Linked DNA regions of Homo sapiens: region 1 is linked to region 2. The links are contacts of gene promoters, found by promoter capture Hi-C in human tissues and cell types (Jung and others, 2019). All regions are on one chromosome and are shown on one strand. The core of a region is centred on a gene start or on the middle of the fragment in contact, and the rest is flanking DNA. Distances in the headings are between cores, read along the strand shown. Region 1 has its middle 35 kb from the start of MAPRE2. Region 2 holds the start of SLC39A6 (solute carrier family 39 member 6).

Evidence for each region. The method cuts DNA at HindIII sites, captures the fragments that hold promoters and counts their contacts. A contact is called where the count stands out against the background at its distance.
Region 1: a contact is called between a fragment that was not itself captured here and the fragment with the promoter of SLC39A6 in region 2, in 1 of the 25 tissues and cell types used here (dorsolateral prefrontal cortex).

What each region holds. Positions count from the first base shown.
Region 1 is chr18:35,003,221-35,009,249 of GRCh38, reverse strand. It overlaps a transcript of MAPRE2 not described here. Among named protein-coding and RNA genes, the nearest start is that of MAPRE2, 35 kb to the left of the region's middle. The HindIII fragment of the contact is 3,223 bases long and covers 899-4,121 here.
Region 2 is chr18:36,125,244-36,130,589 of GRCh38, reverse strand. It overlaps SLC39A6 (solute carrier family 39 member 6), which reads left to right and starts at 1,250. Exons shown (of 10, transcript NM_012319.4): 1 at 1,250-1,476; 2 at 3,574-4,371. The coding sequence starts at 3,583. It overlaps ELP2 (elongator acetyltransferase complex subunit 2), which reads right to left and starts at 691. Exons shown (of 22, transcript NM_018255.4): 1 at 519-691. The coding sequence starts at 656. RefSeq lists enhancers at 440-649, 441-946, 810-999, 1,030-1,324, 947-1,452. The HindIII fragment of the contact is 7,969 bases long and covers 1-4,489 here.

The sequences.
Region 1 (6,029 bases), core at 1,261-3,760, 1.1 Mb after region 2:
TCCACACCAACTCACCTTCATGGCTCAGCTCAGATGTCATCTCTACCTCCCCCTCCCCAAACTCCCATTATACTGTAACTGTATTTCTCCTATGGTGCATCTTATTTTCTTACTAAAGTCGTTTACATATATCTTAGTTCCCCAGTAAAGTCAAATGCTCTGAGATAGAAGCTATCTCTTGCTCACTATTGAAAAACTACAATACCTAGCTGATAGTAGGCACAAAATAAATGTAGAATGAGCACATCATTCATATATATATATGTACACACACACACGTGCATGCACACACACACACACCCCAAAACACTCAGCACAGTGCTTTACAGTTAGTAATCATTCAGTAAATACTATTGAATAAATTAAATGCTTTCTGAAAATGTTATGGTGAAACTAGTACCCTAAAACTATAAATGTTTGTAAATTATTCCAAATCTCTGGGAAAAATATAGTAAACTAGATTAAAAGTCATAAAAATGGTCTGTCCTTGACAGATAATCCCACTTCTGGGATTGTGACCTTAGAAAATAGATGAATAGACACAAACCAAACGAAACCAAACCAACAACAAGATCTGTATAAAAATTTAGCATAGCATTTTTTATAGTGAAAATGGGAAGATAGTAAGAATTAAAGCACATACTATGGCATGTTGATATAACATTATACTGCAATTCCAATAATAGTTCTGATGACCCATGAAAGTAAAAGATGCTGTGACTCACAGTAGGTAAAATACAAAGTTCACACTCATTATGATATGCACTGTGGAAAATTAGGAATGCCCGTGAGAAGACCAAATATGCAAAAATGGAAAAATAGTTATTTTAGGATGGTGTTGTTATGGGTGATTTTCTCCTCTAGGTTTTCTTTAAGTGTATTATGTTACTTTTCATTAATATAATAAAAAATTTGGTATAGTCGACATGAACTTTTCCTTAACGTGACTGATTATATTTCCCAAAGATAACTATTTAGTGAGGATCAAAGCATAAAATTAAATTGCCTACTAATGAGCTATTGCTTCAGTATTTAACACTAAGACTCAGGTGTCACCTGAGTCTTATACATCATGAGGTATAAAGTACAAGCATGTTGTGTGTGGTGCAGGAACAGATTTGGATGAGAAACAAGAAGTGACACCCAGTAAAGGAATCTCAGGAACCACTTAATAGCAGATAGGATTACTCATTCAAGGAAATGATCAATACAGCTTTCCCTAGGGGATTGGTTTCAGAACCTTCCTTCCCCCACAAGAATCCATTCATGCTCAAGTCCCCCAGTTGGCCCACTGAATCCAGCAATATGAAAAGCTGGCTGCCTTTGGCTTCATATACCGATGAATACTGTATTTTCAGTTTACTTTTGGTTGCGGATCTGGAATCCACGGATATGGAAGTTTGACTGCATTTATTGAAAAAAAAAAATCACTTATAAGTAAGCCCGTGCAGTTCAAACCCATGTTGTTCAAGGGTCAACTGTACTAGTTCCTGAAAGGGTTAAATAAAGGAGGGTGCAACCCAGAAGGGATATAGAGAGAAGGGAGAGGGACTAATGATGGTTCTCTCTTTGGTTCTCTGCCATCTCCTACCAACTTAACCCATCTCTGTTATCTATCATGGATGCGCAAATGATGGCCTGCAGGCCAAGTATAGTCCATTGCCTGTTTTTGTAAATAGCTTTACTGAACACAGCCAAGGCCATCTCTTTATGTGTTATCTTTGTCTGTTTTCACACTACAATGAGTTGAACAGTTTAGACTGAGACTTGTATGACCAGCAAGGCAAAAAATATTTACAATTTGGCTCTTTAAAAACACATTTGTCCCATACCCCCATATATAAGGAGATTTAGAAAGCAACACCCTATTTAGATAGTGGGCCACCTTTTCCTGTTACTTTTTCTTCACCAGCCTGGAAGATAGGATGATCATATAATTTATCATCCAAAATGAAACGTTTTGAGGGTGAAAGGCAGTGCTAACTAGACTATTTTCCAGGAACACAGACTTGAACCAGGATTGCCTCATACAGACCCGACATATGGACCACCTACTATAAGGGCTAGCAGTACAAGATCAGTTTTCAAAGGGCACTTATGATCCGCAGCTATAGACACAGAAAGCTTAGGTGGTTTCTCTTCCTGGTTCTTCCTATTTCTAATGCCCTCAGGTACCTTTCCACTGAGCCCTGTCCCAACTCTGTCCTAGAGCCTGCTCTGGCCCCTGAATATTCCAGCTGTTGGAACATCATGCAGGGTACCATATCTCCACTTTGTTTGCTTGTTTTAGATGGAGTCTTGCTCTGTCACCCAAGCTGGAGTGCAGTGGCACGATCTTGGCTCACTGCAACCTCTGCCTCCTGGGTTCAAGTGATTCTTGTGCCTCAGCCACCCGAGTAGCTGGTATTACAGGTATGCACCACAATGCCCAGCTAGTTTTTATATTTTTAGTAGAGACAGGGTTTTGCCATGTTGGCCAGAGTGGTCTTTAACTCCTAACCTCTGGTAATGTGCTCACCTCAGCCTACAAAAGTGCTCCATATTTCCACTTTCACTAGAGCAACAGGAGAAAACATCTATTCTTCCACACTAAATAAACTAATTGTTCCAAGTCAATACAGTGAATTTTATACCTGCAAATTTTAATATCAAGACAACTTCTTAAAATGCTATTAAGTGGAAGAATTTCAGTTTCTCTTCTCAAATATTTAAAAAGTGACCACCAGTCATAGCATTTATTACAATGAGGCCCCAAAACAAATATGGTATATTATTCATGATTTGAGCTTTTAATAGTCACCATTACTGTTTAGAGAATTACTATTCAAGAATGAGGTTTCTAATTTTATCATTCCAGAATTTTTTTTTGAAAGAAGAAAACACATACGTCCCCACACACTTTTTTTTTAAGTAAAAATGTTTGATGCTGTGGAGAAATAGGAGTAAAATAAAAGATGTTTAGAGTACCTTTGATGAAATATAGGATGTTACACCACACTTTGTGAGACTATTCTGTGTGAACAATAATAGCTTGTAGCTTGGGACCTCTCTGAATGGCTTTCCAAACATTGCCATCTGGTGGAATTTCAGTTAATTGTTCCTTTGTTCTAAGGGCTCCTGGAGGTGACTCTTGAAGACATTACTTACAGAGACTTAGAGTAATAGTTCGAAATAACTGAAGGTCAAAATGATTGCATCTCAAAGACAAATCCCAGACAGAAAAAAATGAGGCTTTCCAGGTTCGTCATCTCTGTCACAGACATGCTCGCACGCTCGCACGCTCTCACTCTGTCTCTCTTTCTGCCTCTCAAAGCCAACAGAGTGGCTTTCTTGATTCTTAACAATATCAAATAAAAATCATTTATTTATAAATAGCGATGTCATGAGTTCATTTTGACCATATCTTGATATTCTACCCTCCCCACCTATCATAAGATTTTTCAAAATTAAACTTTAATTAATTGGCTTGACCATTTTTGGAGGAATTACTAATAGCAATTAATTAGCCCTTCGTACACTTGGGAAATGGAATTTGATTTGAAAAATAGTGTTTTAAAAGAGCATATTTACTCAAATATCGGCTTTAATTGTGTACTGGAATTTTGAAAATAAATTTGTTACAATGACAATATTACTACTCACTTTAAATTAATTTTTAAGCAAGGAGTCATGCAACGTAATTTATATAAACCTTACCTTGAGCATCCAGGCTTTCTCCCTGGCTGTTGAAATGAACTGTTCCTCTGGGAAACAGGACACTGGGATAGTAAAAATGGAAGAAAAAAAGAGTGCAAGCATTTAATATGATGAAAATATGGAAGCAAAGAGTTATAATTTAGTTTAGTGGGTGTGGCCAGCAATGGAAAAAATTAAAGAAAAAATACACGCCAAATATCCAAAAGTCAATCAATCTTACCATATGAAAGTGATTAAGTCAGCCAGACAATAGAATTATACTCTCAATATATATTATTAGATCAATTCTTATATTGATTAATAGTTGATAAAAATTTAGTATAATGTCAGTCCTATGAAAATATTTTTTCTTTTGTTTTTCCCCTGCCCTGATAGTCTGATGTGACGGGAATCATGTCGGCGGATAACCCCAAGGAGCAGTGCCTCTAGTGGGGTATCAAATACCAACATCAATTAAAGTACTGAATTCCCCAAACTTAGGTTTAACCAGGTTTTATATTTAGTATCAACACAGGCTTTTTCTAGTCAAAAAGATTTTTAATTTCAACAGGATAAGCATTATAAACGACTTTAAAATGTACATACCAATAAGCAGTAATTTAGTAATTTACTTTCTTTTCTTTTTTTTTTTTTTTGGAGATGGAGTCTCGCTCTGTCGCCCAGGCTGGAGTGCAGTGGCGCGATCTCGGCTCACTGCAGGCTCTGCCTCCTGGGCTCACGCCATTCTCCTTCCTCAGCCTCCCGAGTAGCTGGGACTACAGGCGCCCGCCACCATGCCCGGCTAATTTTTCTGTATTTTTAGTAGAGACGGTGTTTCACCGTGTTAGCCAGGGTGGTCTCGATCTCCTGACCTCGCGATCCGCCTGCCTTGGCTTCCCAAAGTGCTGGGATTACAGGCGTAAGCCACCGTGCACAGCCAATTGACTTTCTTTATATGAATTACCTATTTATTTTCAAAATATGCTTTGACTAAATGAGGCAGTAAGACAGTAAACTGATGAGGGACAAATCCAATTCTGGAGGCTAAGAAATGGAGGAGTCTGAGTTTGCTTTGAGAATCAAGTGTTTGGGGGATGAACGGTTACGGAGGAGGTTGCTATGTTTCAACTGGATGCTGCTATGAATGACCTGACTTGCATATACATATGAGCCTTAACTCTCTTCCCCACTTTCCACCTAAGCCCTACATTGCTCTTCTGTGTTTTCTATGACCATTTCAGAAATGACTTGGTGTTTATTTAGCTTAAAATCATTGTGTAAAAATAAAATATTTGTGATAGATCCAACATGATGTGATTATTCCGAGACACAGGTCTGGAGATGTTGCTGGTAGAATTATTATTTTTTTTAATTAAAAGGGAGGAGGTGGCATTTTATAGTTTTTCTCTAAGGGAAAAAGGAGATGTTTAGTTAAAAAAAGGTGAAAAACAAAATGGCAAGAGTCAAGAGAATAAAAGTAAAGGTGACAACTGAATTGTTATACTACTCAGTGAAGGATCTCAAAAATAATTAATAAACTTGGGCTTGTTTAAAAATCAGAAAACTTAACATGAATGGTGTACATAGTGTCAATAACTAAATTAAGATATATTGACTACAATCTAAGTTTTTTCCTTCAGATACAATAAGTTGAATTTCCTTACATATTTTGCAGCAGAATTTAATTTTACGAATACGTTATATCTTTCTACAACTGAATGATAGTTGATAAACCTAAATTCAGATTTTAACAATATTGGTTCCCATCCATGTCAGTTTCTATTCTTAAGTCCTTCAATTTTCCAGAAAGTTCAACTGAATCAGAATGAAATTTTCATTTATCTACTTTATTTAATAGTACCCAGTAGCTGTGCAAGCCACTGGCCACCAAGCTACGAAGCAGGAACATAAGGTTTCTAGTTTATCTATAAAGCAGATAATTAGCCCTTAGAAAATTCAGAATTGTCTGTATACAATTGGCCTTTTTCTATTTTCTGACAACGGTCCATTGCTAGGTTTTCCAGCAGCCGCAATGGATCAGTTTGGAGAAGAATGACATTATTTATTGAACACCTTATGCACCAGTCATTTCACATATTTTATCTAATTTAATCCTCAAAACTATCTTATTATAAATGAAGAAACAGAGGCTCAGAGTAGTGGGGCAATTTGCCCAATATCATGCAGCTAGAAAGGGATAGATTTTAATTGAGTCTGGCAGACCAGTATCTATCTCCTTTCTCTTTCATCTGTATGTCCACACTAAAATACCTTAATAGCAGTCATTTGACATAGATTCGAAATACCTGGAGAGCTTTCACTCCATCATCATAAGTTCAGGACCTAGCATGTGG
Region 2 (5,346 bases), core at 1-2,500:
TCCCCTATGACCTTTCCCCCAAACTGACACTTTCTCTAAAATGTCCATTCCCGTAGCTAAAACACAGGTAACATTTCCTTGAAATTCAATACAACAAAAGTTCATTAACCAAAACTGAAGGAAATACTGAAATGAGATTGCACCTGTGGGATGATGGTTTTAATCTACATATAAATTTCAATTGTTTTAAAACCCAAATTGATTAACGGTACTACAGTTCCCAAGGAAGGCTTCAGGTAAGATGCTTATCATTCGGGTTTCTGCGTGGGACTAACAGGTTACTAGCAGCTCATGGGCAGCAATGACCCTAGGATGACGCCACGCGTGAGACGGCAAAGGGTGAGGGGTGAGGAGCGAGTCCGGCAGGTCCACTGGAGACTCCGAGCCCAAACCCCGCTCCCCTGAGCCGACCCGACTCGCCTCCTAGGTCTGGGGCGGCAACTAACAGCGCGCCCGGAGCACGTCCACAGGTTCAACCCGAAAAGCACAAGGGTCGGCCGTCCAGCGACCTCTCTTACCAGGGGGTCATAGAGCACCACGGAGCAGGACGTGCCAAAGGCCAGAAGTCCTCTGGGCCCAGAGCTCCAGTTCAGGACTCCCCGCACCCGGTTTGGGCAGCAAAACACGTGAGAAGTCTCCAGCACGGGTGCCACCATGTCGCCAACTGGTCAGCCGCACAAACAAGAGACGCGCACTTCCGCCCTCGGAGCGGAACTACTAGGGTGGTTTCTCCTGAGGCATCACCCAGTCCACGTTTCGCAGCCAGCCGAGGGCCAGACGGAGGCAGCCCCGCCCCCCTGAGACTCTCCGTTCCCACCGCAGGCTGGAACCCCTGTGCAAGGCCGCCGCTTTGCTAGCTCTGCTCTTGGACCGTGGCCCCGCTCCGCGAACGAGCCAGGCCTTTGTCTCAAGAGCGAAATCCGACCCGAGTGGCTCGGGACCCTCCCGAAGGACCCGGGGCTCATGTGCCTGGGGCAGCGTCAGAAACATCTCGCTGCCCCTTACGACCCGGCTCCCAGCAGCAGCCAGGGCTGGCCCCGGGGGCGCTGGCTAGCGAGTAGGGCCTCGAGGAAATGACCCCCAACTGCTTACAATGCGCTAGGGCCGCGCCACGCCCCCGCGGCGTCGGCGAACACACGGAAAAGCGGATCCGTCTGCGGAGCCGGGTTCCGGGGTCGCACTGCGCATGCCCTGCAGTCCTGGGCGAAGGGGGCGGTGGTTCCCCGCGGCGCTGCGCGCGGCGGTAATTAGTGATTGTCTTCCAGCTTCGCGAAGGCTAGGGGCGCGGCTGCCGGGTGGCTGCGCGGCGCTGCCCCCGGACCGAGGGGCAGCCAACCCAATGAAACCACCGCGTGTTCGCGCCTGGTAGAGATTTCTCGAAGACACCAGTGGGCCCGTTCCGAGCCCTCTGGACCGCCCGTGTGGAACCAAACCTGCGCGCGTGGCCGGGCCGTGGGACAACGAGGCCGCGGAGACGTGAGTCTTTCAGGTCCGGGAGCAGGGCGGCTGGGAGGGGAGCTCCTCAGGCCAGACAGGCGTGGCGGGGTAGGGGTGGTTCTGCGGAGAACCGGATCCTGCGGACCGGGCAGGGGGGCTACAGAAAGAGGATGCTGGGGGGAGCCCGCCGCAGGCGCCCACTCACCCTAGAGAGCCGGACTTCTTAAGGTGCTCAGATGGGCTTCGGGGTGCAACGGAGGATTTTTTGAGGAAAAGATCCGTACTTTTCATCCCATATTCGAAGAAGGGACTGACGTGTTTAGAAATAAAAAGCTTTTAGAAGAGAGCTTTGTGCCCTCTTTTCCGTTTTCTGTACTCGCCTTTTTCTCTAAGGCCCTTCCCTTCTGCTTTCCTTTTTCCTCCAGCACACACCAACTTGCAGGAAAGGAGATCCTTCAACGGGTCCACGACCGCGCTCAGCATCCTCCCTGGAGAAAGGCTCGGAGCTGTCCCCTGTGCTAGTCCCCTCCCACCCCGCTCCTCGCCTCTCTCCTGGGAATGATTTCTAAATGTTTATCTTTTACCTAGTAAAAGAATTCCCGAAACTTCAAGCCCCAAAGATTCCTCTTTCAGGAGCCTCGTTCTACGCCGTACCTCCATTTCCCACTGTTCCCTGTATGATACCTCGCACTTGTGCAACACATGAGTTTAACGAGTACTTGTAATATACATTCCTTCATGTGTTTTCCTCCTTCGCCTTGCAAAATAGGTTTTACCGGTATTTTAGATAAGGTAATGAATGCGAGAGCCCTGTCCAAAGAACAGCTGACCGTGGTAGAGCTGGATAGCCCCATGCTCTTGCTTAGTTGTAAACTTGACGTCTGCGTCTTTTGCTGGAGATGTGAGTTTGACCACCATCACCTCCACCGTTGGTGCTGGACATCCTGCTGGATCTGAATTAACTGAATTCTGGCTCTGCTTAACTGAATTCTGCTTTTCAAGCTCCAACTCAATTGCTTCCTCCTCTTTGGGGCACAGGCCTTTGGTTCCAAACACTACTGTGGATGATTAACAGCCTGTGATTAAATGTTGACTGGTTTGTAGTAACACAAGGATGCTACAGTGAGTTTTTCATGAAGTTCAGTTTACTTTAAGAATTCTATGTATGGACATAATGTGTCTGATTCATTGTCAAGTCGGAAAAAAGATTCAATGTGTATTTAAAGTATACACTTATTTGAGGCTGGGCGTAGTGGTCACGCCTGTAATCCCAGCACTTTGGGAATTGGAGGTGGAGGATCTCTTGAGGCCAGGAGTTCAAGACCAACCCGGACAACATAGTGAGACCTCGTCTCTAGAAAAAAAAAAAAAAAACTTTAAAAAAAAAATTAAGTATACATGTATTTGAGTATGCATAGAAAATATCCTGAGGGATACACTGGCAAAATTGAGCACCTTTGAGGATTGTGATTGGGGAAAGGGGTCTTAAATGGGCTTGTATGTAAGGAGAGTGTATTAGTTTAAAATTTTTTAAATATGTGAATTCTGAGATTATTATTTCTATTTTTTGGTGTTTGAAGGTTATTTTATGAAATGATGGTGATGATCAAGGTAGCTAGATTTCATTTCGTTCTTTTTTTTTTTTGAGACAGGGTTTCACAATGTTGCCCAGGCTGGTCACAAACTCCTGGCCTCAGGTGATCTGCCTGCCTCAGCCTCCCAAAGTGCTGGGATTATAGGCATGAGCCACCACACCCAGCCTAGATTTAATTATGAATCATTGGCCTCAATGATTCAAATAATCGTTCAAATAAATTCTCAACTTCAGTAAGCAGTTGATGGCTGTGGCCACATGGATCTCCCTTGTCTCTGAATTACTATTGCTTTTACAGTGCTAATGGCAGTCTCTTAGCACTCAGCTCTTCTCCAGTTGTTTCATGTGTTTTAGGAATGCAAGGGTAGAGCCTAGGACTCTAGTTCTTTCCATCTTCACAGTACCTAGCGTCACACTGGTCACACCACATGATGCTCTGGCAACTTTGATTATTTGATTACACATTAATTTTCAGTATGAGGTTTCTTAATTCAATTTGTTTTAGAAGTGAGTCAAGAATTTTTTTTTCCTGTCTTTTCTAGGAAGGCGCAATGGCGAGGAAGTTATCTGTAATCTTGATCCTGACCTTTGCCCTCTCTGTCACAAATCCCCTTCATGAACTAAAAGCAGCTGCTTTCCCCCAGACCACTGAGAAAATTAGTCCGAATTGGGAATCTGGCATTAATGTTGACTTGGCAATTTCCACACGGCAATATCATCTACAACAGCTTTTCTACCGCTATGGAGAAAATAATTCTTTGTCAGTTGAAGGGTTCAGAAAATTACTTCAAAATATAGGCATAGATAAGATTAAAAGAATCCATATACACCATGACCACGACCATCACTCAGACCACGAGCATCACTCAGACCATGAGCGTCACTCAGACCATGAGCATCACTCAGAGCACGAGCATCACTCTGACCATGATCATCACTCTCACCATAATCATGCTGCTTCTGGTAAAAATAAGCGAAAAGCTCTTTGCCCAGACCATGACTCAGATAGTTCAGGTAAAGATCCTAGAAACAGCCAGGGGAAAGGAGCTCACCGACCAGAACATGCCAGTGGTAGAAGGAATGTCAAGGACAGTGTTAGTGCTAGTGAAGTGACCTCAACTGTGTACAACACTGTCTCTGAAGGAACTCACTTTCTAGAGACAATAGAGACTCCAAGACCTGGAAAACTCTTCCCCAAAGATGTAAGCAGCTCCACTCCACCCAGTGTCACATCAAAGAGCCGGGTGAGCCGGCTGGCTGGTAGGAAAACAAATGAATCTGTGAGTGAGCCCCGAAAAGGCTTTATGTATTCCAGAAACACAAATGAAAATCCTCAGGAGGTAAGATGAGTGCTGTTCATTATTTTAATATACCTGTGTGTCTGTCCTGTCTCTGCTACTCTATCTCTAGTTATGAGGAGTTTAAAGTAAAAGTAAAATGTTGAAGTTATTGAAAAGGGAATTTCCACCTTCTCAGCAAGGCACTTGCCACAAAGCATGCCTGCTATGTTGTAAACATTCCCAATTCAGAACTTAGGGAACAGTTCTTTTGGTGAGCGTAGTGCTGCCTCCTACAATTTTTTCTAATACAGAATATAAAATATGTAGAGAAAGATATCAAGGCTATCTTTAGAGAAAGTCTATAAAGGTGAACATTATTAATAAAAAATAGAAAATGAGGGGTTGAAAGCAGGAGTTAGAATCCATATTGTAGGGAAAGGTGTGACTGAAGGGGCTGAAGACTACTGAGAATACCACTGCTGCCTCCTTGACAGAAGGTCCACCATGACTTGAGGAATGATTGAAATTGGAGCAGTTTCCATGAATGTCATGCTGGACAAGGGAAAAGTTGGGACAGTGAGGTTCTGAGTTCATGTGGTTTTTCTAGAGTAGACTTCCAGACTGTACGTAATTCACCTTGGCTGAGAGATGTCAAGAACAGGGAATTATGTCAAAAAAAAAAGGAACAAGGAATTAGTTGATACAGTTTAATAAGCAAAACTTTAGTACTTCATTCAAACCAGCATGTGACTGTACTAATTCTGGACTAATCCTAGTAGTGGCCATAGCCATAGCAGCCCTGGTGATAAAGTTTGCTCTGAGTTGTACCAACTGAGAATTGTGGTGGGAGTTGAAAATGTCTTTACAGAAGATGAGAAACTGGTACTAAAGCCAGTTTGGGGTTTTTTTGTTGTTTTTTTTTTTTTTTCTTTTTTGGCTGGGGGAGAGATTGCACAGAGGAGTATCTTCAAACTAAGTTTGTCATCTAATTAAATAGTTGAAAACATCTGCCTGCCGGTACAGGTTTGTTTTATT